Regions from separate parts of the Homo sapiens genome. Here region 2 is linked to region 1. The links are contacts of gene promoters, found by promoter capture Hi-C in blood cells and fetal thymus (Javierre and others, 2016). All regions are on one chromosome and are shown on one strand. Each heading gives the region's core, a stretch centred on a gene start or on the middle of the fragment in contact. The rest is flanking DNA. Distances are from core to core; before and after follow the strand shown. Region 1 holds the start of DMRTA2 (DMRT like family A2). Region 2 overlaps FAF1 (Fas associated factor 1).

The links. Contacts are between HindIII fragments. The CHiCAGO score rates a contact against its expected background, and 5 or more counts as called.
Region 2: a contact is called between a fragment that was not itself captured here and the fragment with the promoter of DMRTA2 in region 1, in 2 of 17 cell types (endothelial precursors and megakaryocytes). The highest score is 6.7, in endothelial precursors.

Annotation. Positions count from the first base shown.
Region 1 is chr1:50,421,215-50,425,888 of GRCh38, reverse strand. It overlaps DMRTA2 (DMRT like family A2), which reads left to right and starts at 2,446. Exons shown (of 3, transcript NM_032110.3): 1 at 2,446-2,773; 2 at 4,345-4,674. The coding sequence starts at 4,353. LOC105378714 (a long non-coding RNA gene) reads right to left here and starts at 2,343. Exons shown (of 3, transcript XR_947325.3): 1 at 1,992-2,343; 2 at 1,288-1,451; 3 at 1,017-1,049. RefSeq lists a silencer at 1,264-1,323 and an enhancer at 4,151-4,650. The HindIII fragment of the contact is 17,148 bases long and covers 1-3,747 here.
Region 2 is chr1:50,601,836-50,606,509 of GRCh38, reverse strand. All of the region lies in intron 8 of FAF1 (Fas associated factor 1), which reads left to right. Among named protein-coding and RNA genes, the nearest start is that of FAF1-AS1, 160 kb to the right of the region's middle. RefSeq lists an enhancer at 1,965-3,164. The HindIII fragment of the contact is 1,207 bases long and covers 1,600-2,806 here.

The DNA.
Region 1 (4,674 bases), core at 1,197-3,696:
CACTAGGGGTTGGGCGGATTCCCTCTGGTTGGGCTGTGTTAGATGCCAGGATGCTCCTCCTCCCACTCCTGAGAAAATGAAGTTCCTCACGCATCTGCTGGGCCGCCTCGGGTTCCCGAGTCCTCGTGGCTACACCCTTGGCTTCTGCGGGATCCCCGGTCCGGAGTGGGGAAATCTCACGGTGACCTGGCCTCAAGCGAGAAGGATACCTGGGCCACCGCCCCCTCAAAAGCTAGGCAGATTTGTATAGTTTATTTCGTTTTCGGTTTAATAGAATTTCCCGAAAACTTTGTCCAAAGGAGCTCTGGGAGCAGGCGCCTGGCGGCCCCTGCGCGGAATCCGGCGGTTGTCGGCGCTCTTCCCCCGACCCCATGGCTCACCTACCCAGGTGCAGCCGGGGCTAGACATACTTGGCCTCGGAACCTCCAGGTGTTGGAAGGTGGGGTCTGGGTCCTGCGCTCCTAGAGGACATATTATCCCTGAAGCACTCCCTTATCCTCACTTCACGCGGGAGACCCTCGCGGGGGCTGACACCCTTCTCTCTCCTAAACCCATTCACAGACTCCAGCAAGTGGCATTTTCTGGGAGCGAGTAACCAGCTTTTTATCGCTATCATAGACCTTGTCCGTGTCGGAGCGCCCTCGCGCCGGGGCCTGGTGAACTTTCTGGAAGCTCTCCGCCCGGTCCTCCAGCGAATCACCCCCACCCACTCCTCCCTCCAGCCTCAGCCTCCCGGTGGGCATCTTCCAGGGCTCTTCCGGGGCGCCAGGTTCTGCGGTCTTCGGGTGGGGGCCCGTTAGTCGCACCGTCCTTCCCCCACCCCCATTCCTGGGCTCAGAAGCTGATAGACTGACAAGACGCGGCCCAGTAGTCGTGCCAGGCGGAATGGGCTGCGTCCTGAGGCCGCGACGACCCGGGCCGAGTCTGCGCGCCCAGATTCCCGCCGGCCTGGAGGTTCGAAAGAGCAACGCAGAGACGCACGGTCAAGAGTGGAGGGAGAACGACAGGAACGCTCATTTTCCTCATTATTTAAACGAATTTTCTTTATTCTGAAGGAGAGAGAGAAAAGTAGAGAACAAAAACGAGAGTGACAGAACATTAGAAATTAGAGGGAAAAACAGAATTAGAGGGAAAAACAGAACTTTAGAAATTAGAGGGGAAAAGACACAGAGATAAAATCAGAGCTACAGAAACCGAGGGCGACTCGCCCGAGGGCCGCGGCATTAATTCCAGATGTTTGAAAGGCAACAGCCTTTCAAAAAGGAAACAAAATCTGAAACCTGTTACCTCTTCTGCAGAACGAGCTGTTCCTCAGGGCCGTGACATCAAGACAAGACGAGAATAAGGCGAAAGTTAAAACTGAAAACTGTCCGAGGGGGCCTCCCAGCAGTGACTTTGTCTCTTGCCGGGAAGGTCGGACAGACCGATGCGCGTCCTGAGTTTAAGAGAATCTGCGGAGACACAGAGGCCACTTTTTACTTTCGTTTAGAAAAGAAAAAAAAAGGGGGGGGGGCTATTTGTTCATTTGCAATAACGACAAAAAGAATCCCACCACCACGGAAAAGAAATCGAGATGCTGAAAAGTGAGGAAAAGAGAGCTCAAAAGGGGCTGAGGGACGCGAAAAGAGGGGCGGGGAGAGGAAAGGCTCAGGGCGCGAGGGACGTGGCGGGCACCGACAGGAAGTGCAATCTCATTTCTCTTCGCTGAGCTTCTCTTTAAACACGAAAATCTTCATAAACCACACTTACCCTCCAGGATGACTATCGTATCAGGACTTTTAAAATAAAGTAACTGAGCTTTAAGGAGACAGGAGGAAAAAACCAAAGCAGCCCCCAACTACCCCAAACTCGTCGGATTTGGGAGCGCGCCGAAACATAGCAGGAAGAAGGCAGGAAAAATCGTCCTGGCATTTATGCCTTGAACACCCTCCCTTCCCCACCCCCGCACCCTTGTCCCGCCCCTACCCCGACCGCAGTAATTGAATTGTCACCTGCCCCCCATCCCGCCTCAGGGCTCCAGAGCCACTTGGGAAGCTCGGCTTTGCCAAGCGCCCCAGGCCAGTAAGAGCGGTGCAGCCGAGCCGGCGCCCCAGAAGCCGAGAGGTTACACAAGTCTACGCAGAGAGGCGCACCGGACACGGTAATTAGGAGCAATTCACACGCTCTCGGGCGCACGGAAACTACTTGTCAGGAAATTTTCAACGCTCCTCCTCGCCCACTTTTTTCCACTCCTTTCCTGGCGCGCCCCCTCCCCTCCCAGAGGCACGCAGTGGAGCTTTTGGAGTTTCGAATCTTTCGGACACTGCAGAATGCGGGGCTCCCCGGGCGCGGGCCCGGCCAATCAGAGCGCCGTCTGCCTCCCCTGGCCAATGGCAGGCGCCACATTGTTGTCCAATTCTGTCTAATGGAGCCCTAAGGACCAACAATAGAGCGGGCGAGCGGCTCATTGAGAGTCTGGCAGCGCCGGGCAACTGGGCCCCGGCTGCGCGCAGCGTCCGGCGCGCACCGCGAGGGGACCCGGCACGGCGAGAGTCAGGTCGCGGGTTCCAACCACGCGGCCCGCAGACGAGCCTCCGACCCGGATTTCTGAAGGGAGGGTTGGACTGCGCTGCGTTCTGAGGGGTCCGGAAGTTCGGACATGGTGACTGAAGGAGGGTGACGTGGTCAGATAAGGGGCCGGGGGCAAAGGGAAGCGGCCAAGAGCTCCAGCGTCGCCAGTGGAGCCGGGAGGCGCGTGCAGCGCCAGCGGAGGAGGAGGATCCCGGAGCCCAAGGCAGGTAGTTGAGGGCCGCAGGGAGAGCAGTGGGTGGAGACCTGGTCTGCGGCCCCTGTTGAGGAGGCCTGGGCCCCGTGGGCCTTAGGGACGCCCGAAGGGTCTGGGAGAGGAGGCAACGCTCATAGAGAGGAGGTCTGGGACTCTCGGACGGAGACACAAGGACTCTGTCGCGGGCTCTGGCAGGGACGGGGAACGCGGGAAGCAGAGGAGACCGCGGCAGAAGCGGGGAGCTGGGCCTGCTTGGGCCTTATGGGGCTGCGGCGTGGGAGGGACTCTGGTGTCCGTTTATGGCCAGTTGCGAAGGCGACTCCCCTGGCTTGGTGCGGCCTGCTGGGCCATCCGTGTCCTAGGACCCCAACTCTGAGATCAGAACGCAGGAGCCTGCGCTCGAGAGGGGTCCCCTGGGACCCCAAGACGGGGAGGGCGTGTCTGACGACTCTGTCCCTAAACCCGGAGGGGAGGGGAGGGCAGTGTGAGGTGGTCTTCGAGAAAGATCCCCCTCCCGAAATGCCTAACTTTTCGCAGGATACGTCTTCCGCCCCGACTACTACTCCAGACTGCGAAGCTAAAAAACTGCACCACAGGTTTTACCCAATCCCCTCCCCCAGCATTTGCCTGTGGGGTTTTTTCTTACACATTCCCCTCTCCCAGGCGCGGCCCCTGGATCCCGGACACCCAGATCAGCTGCTTTTCACTGTTTTCCTTGCCCATGAAGCTCATCTTTGGGCTGGGTTTGCCTATACAGAAAGTTTCTTTGGCCGAATTTTTCTCTTTAATACTTCCCAGTCCTAAGCTAAATTCCACATACATTTTGTCTCTCACTCTCTGGAGGCCCTCACCGTGGAACTTTTGGCGCTCACATTTTTACGGGTCCCAGAGCCACTGGGCCTAACTTTGCCCAAGTTGTTTCCTCGTCCTCACTCTGCTTCCTAAAGCTATTCTTTCTGTTGTTGATTTTTCTCTCCAAAGCTTCTGCCCCAAACTGCATTAAAAATAAACAAACAAAAAGAAACAAAACTCCGGCCCAACCGGCCTTCACATCTGCGCCTTCACATCTCTCTCCTCTTCACCCTTCCACCAAACTGACCGTTTTGCTCCGGGTTTTCCTGTTTTGCCCTTGGCATCAGCCTAACTTCTGGGCCAAAACTGTCGCTCTAATCCCAGTCCCGTCAAACGAGCATTTCTCTCACCCGTCTCACCCCAATTAGGCTAAGCTTTGGGGTATCATCTTAACTTTTCCAAATTCTCATTACAGCCATCTGAATCAGTGACTTTCACACTTTACATGTCTCTTTATTTTTTCCAGCGGAATCACTAATTCAGACAAAATCTTACCCCTAGCGTGTATATCAGGTCTAAGAGCAGCCATGGCCAGACTGGGGTGAAGGTGCTAGGGCTCACAAGGAGGTTCCGACTGCACCTCCTCCCAGCAATTCTGGCCCCTCTAGCCCAGCCTCCGCGGCCCAAATTTCCCTCTCCAGCTTGGGTTCCTCAAGGCGGCGCTTTGGCCTAGCGCGCGGTGTGCTCCTCACCAGGTCTCTCCCCTCTCCCACCTTCTTTCCCGTCAGGTCCTGTCATGGAGCTGCGCTCGGAGCTGCCCAGCGTGCCCGGCGCGGCGACGGCGGCGGCGGCAACAGCGACGGGGCCGCCTGTGGCGTCGGTGGCGTCGGTGGCGGCAGCCGCGGCGGCCGCTGCATCGCTACCGGTGAGCGTGGCAGGCGGCTTGCTGCGGGGGCCGCCACTGTTGCTGCGGGCAGCCGAGAAGTACCCGCGGACCCCCAAGTGCGCGCGCTGTCGCAACCATGGCGTGGTGTCGGCCCTCAAGGGCCACAAACGCTACTGTCGCTGGAAGGACTGCCTGTGCGCCAAGTGCACGCTCATCGCGGAGCGCCAGCGTG
Region 2 (4,674 bases), core at 954-3,453, 180 kb before region 1:
AAAAAAAAAAAAAAAAAAAAGCAACTCTCACAGCTACAATATATCTAAACAAAAATGCTCTCCACAGGTTGGCACTCACAAGAATGTTATGTGGGAAATGATAAGAAACCCTTCTCTCTTTATAATTTAAATTTGTTCACTTAGGAAGAAATTTTTCTTTAACATTGGTCGGCATCATTTGGATATCTTTGGTATGGAAAAGACTGAATAATATATTTGGTTGTTATATGTTTTAGAACATATACTAATACAGTTAAATTTAATTGACATAAGTTGATATAAAATACTTAAATGATACCAATTCTGTCATCTAGGCTTAGATTCTTAAAAATAATTGGGCATTGCAACTGAAAACACCTATATGATAATCCTTCTGGCAAGGACACAAAGATGAGGTGGTGTGTGATTTTTATTTTTTTAAAGTTGAAAATCTAGTCCACTATGCTACATATTTTTTCACTTATCTCTTTATTGCTGTCAACAAAGATATTATTCCCATTTCTCAGACAAGGAAACTGAGATGTTTTGAGATAAGCAGCTTTCCTGAGAAATGACATTAGTTATCAAAGCCTGGCTCCAAGGCCAGGTTATTTGGATCCAAGTGCCTGACATATAATAACTTAATATTTATTGAATAAGTTATCAACTCTGAGTAACTATATGGTTAGTATAACATTCAACAAATAGTTCTAAATTATCAAATAATATGAGGAAGAAAAGCAGAGTCAAGAGAAATCTGCACATATTCCAGATCTCTCTTTCCCCCTCACCCTTCTTACTGGTTATAGGCAATGTGTTTAATATGTTCTTTTCCCTCTTCTGCCCTCCACCAGAGGGTGCTCATAAGCAACTAAATGGCATAAAGCTGTAGTGATAGGAACTGTGAAAGAAGGGCTATTTTAATTCACAGTGTGGATTATTGGCCTCTGTGAAAAAAAAAAAAAGTTGACTTTGAAACAGAGTTCTTGATTGAGCTGAAATAACTTTGGTTTAAAGTTGCCTTACAAATAACATCTTGAGCACTTACTTACCTGAGGATAGTACTTTTTTATATAGGTAAAGTTGACCATTCTCTCTAAAAAGGTATGAGGGACTATGCCATTAGACAGTGTTAGGCTGGTCTGGGTTGTATTTCTTATTGTGTAACTTAATGCTCTTCAGAAGTATTTTAATGACGTAAAATACTTCAGAACCTCTTCTAGTGTACTCACTAAAATCAATAAGTAATGAAGTACAAGAATATTGATGTCTGTGTTTAGTTATAAAAGCATATCCATTTAGAAATTGTGCTAATTCTGTTACAGTGAGCAGCTCTTTATCTCGCTATGACATAATCTGGTTTTAGGGGATGAAATGCCCTAGAAGATTAAAAAAACAAACAAACAAAAAAACCTTTTATATTGAGCAACCTCTGTTTGATAGCCAAAATCTCAAGATAATGTTGGGACAGTATAAGGAAGCATAAAAGTGGGTAATTATAATGTGGAAAATAGCATCAGGTGATTCTCCTTGATTTTGAGAGTCCCACCAGATTAAATGAAAGAAACCAAAAAAGTAAGTCAGGAGCATTTAAAATTACTATATATATTTCCAAAAGCTTTTAAAAAGAAAATATGAGATAATTAAATCAAGATATTTGTTAGTATTTTACAATTAACTGTAACATCTTTAAAAAACACATAGCTGGCTGGGTGTGGTGGCTCACACCTGTAATCCCAGCACTTTGAGAGGCCAAAAGGGGGAGCCCAGGAGCTCAAGACCAGCCTGGGCAACATGATGAGACTCCATCTCTACAAAAAATAAGGAGACCCTCATTTCTACAAAAAATTAAAGAATTAGCTGGGCATGGCAGCATGCACCTGCAGACTCAGCCACACAGGAGGCTGAGGTGGGAGGATTGCTTGATGCTGGGAGATCGAGGTGGCAGTCGGCCGTGATTGTACCACTGCACTCCAGTCTGGGTAACAAAGCAAGACTGTCTCAAAAAACAAAAAAAGAAGAAAAAGAAAAACCGAGATTAGGAGTCAAGAAGAGAACATGCTTGTGCTATCATTAAGCAGATGTGAGACTTGGGACAAACACTTTACCTCTCTATACCTCAGTTTCTTTTCCTGTTAAGTGAGAGGATTAGACCCTTATCTTGTGAGGAGAAACTGCCTTTCATTTGGAATCTGTTGGGGATGGTGGGATCACTGATAGAAGTTTAAGAGAAGGCTGCTGATACCTTCTCTCTGGAAATTCTTATTACTAGCTTGGAATGGGGCAAGGGAGATGCTGAGTGGTGGAAGATATGGCAGTAGCACTTGACTCAGCTAAGGCTTCAAGATCTCCTGGTTGGGATACAAGCAACTGATGAATTCTGAGGACTCTTCCAAATCTAGTATCTTGTGTGTAAAATGAAGCCATGTATAGCAGCCATCCTTGTTTCTTCCAGCTCCGGTTGCTTACATGGTAGTGTTTGTGTTTATGTACATAGCAAAAAGCCTGAGAACTTGTAACTGTTGGTGTTTATTTCATTAAACTTTACCAACTTGCCAAATCAATTGAGGACTATAACGCAGCAAGGCCAGGCAGAGAACACAGTTTTTTGAGCTATTTACACAGGAGTTTTGTTGATAATTGATCTTGACCTGCACATGTCTTTTAATATTCTGTTGGTTCCAGAATATTATTAGTCACTTCCTTTTTAACAGTGTGCTTTTTTATGAGGTGACTAAACTGCTGTTTAACCCTGCTACAAGAATGTGGCAGTGGGCTAGTCCAGACAAGTGCATGTACACTTGGTAACTAGCATTCTTGATAAGCTTGCTTCAACCTGCCACAAATTAAAGCTCTGTGTGACTTTTCTAGCACATAAGTGACAAAAAAAATGGCTGGGGGAAGGGCAGAAGAAACCTCGGATTGTGAATAAAAATAAGCTTTTTAGAGTTGCGCTTTGGTTGGCAGTAAATGAAATTTTAGCCTCATGACTCAGTTCGGTTTAAAACTACCTCAGTAATCTATTTAGCTGAACAGTAAGCATCTGAAAATTTAAAAGGGGTATTCTAGAAGTCATCTTCAGGACTCCTTACTATAAAAAACCTTATCTACGTTGGAAATGTGATGTAATAGAAAACTCCATGGCTTTTGGAGTTAAATCTGGTTTGCCATCTGGTACCTGATTTATCTTGGACAGGTTACTCCACTACTCTAAGGTTGTTTTATGATTTGTACAATCACGATAGTCTTTAATTTACAGAGTTGTCATGTATGGTAGACATATGTTAAGCACTTACTATGTAGTTTCTGACTAATGGATGGTATCTAGGAGTAGCTGTTTTAATTAAGCCAAAGAAAGTAATTACTGGTTATCAGATAGTAAGACAAGATATCTTAGAGCCTTAATAGTTGTTCGATTGGATACTTTTTAAATGGTTGTGAGATAAAGTGCCTGAGTTTTAATTTTGGTTCACCAGTCAGTACCTGTTTGACTTTGGGCAACCTTCTTATTCTGTGTGAGATTTAGTAACCTCATCTCTAAAGTGGGGATTATAATCCTTACCTGGCAGAGTTATTGTGAGAATTAAGTGGGGTAGTGCGTGTAAAGCACTTTGTGTAATAACAATACATACTGAGCTCTTAATAGTAGCAGTTATTATACAACTGCTTTTTAAAATACGGAATGGTTTCATGGGTGTATGTATATATATGTCAAAAAGCAATACTTTAGGCTGGGTGAGGTGGCTCCTATCTGTAATCCCAGCATTTTGGGAAGCCGAGGCGGGCAGATCACTTGAGGTGAGGAGTTCAAGATCAGCCTGGGCAACATGATGAAACCCCATCTCTACAAAAATACAAAAATTAGCCGGACTTGGTGGCATGCACCTGTAGTCCCAGGTACTCAGGAGGCTGAGGCAGGAGAATCGTTTGAACCTGGGAGACGGAGGTTGCAGTGAGCTGAGATCACACCACTGCACTCCAGCCTGGGTGGCAGAGTGAGACTCTGTCTCAAAAAAAAAAAAAAAAAGCAATACTTTATATGAGGATATAAATGCATATATTAATAGCACTGAATACTGCCTTATTGAAGTATAATTGACCTGTAATAAACCATACATTTTTTAAGTGTACAGTTGGATACATCTTGACATACAAATACACAGATTAAAAAGATCATCAGTGCAGTGTAGTCAGTGCTAATATCCGGTAGCATTCCCAAATCTGGATGAAATTACATCAGTGTCTTGTGAGGACGATGACAAGCTTGAGATATGGTTTTTAAAAAATGTCTCATATTAATTGTTCTTCTTAAAACACAAGAGAATTGTATTTTACAAACTGAGTGAATAAAAGATAAAAACAGTAAAGCTGTAGTTTGAATCTCGTTCACTTGTGTTACTGGGTGTGTCACATGCAGAGCAAGGAGTCTGCAGGTGACATAACCAAATCTCCTTAGTGATGTATGAAGATCATAGCCCATTAGGGCTAGAAGGGATCTGAGAGGCCATTTAGTTGGTCGTACCTATATTTTACAAAAGGAGATGTTAAGACTCTTGGTTACTGACCCAAGGTCCCATAACAGGTTTTATAGCTTCCAATACTCTTAAAATGTCTTATTCTTTGTCATTTATAATTAGAAAAAAAGACAGACTGCAAGCATGTATTTGGGGAGGGTTAAAATTTGGCTATAAAATA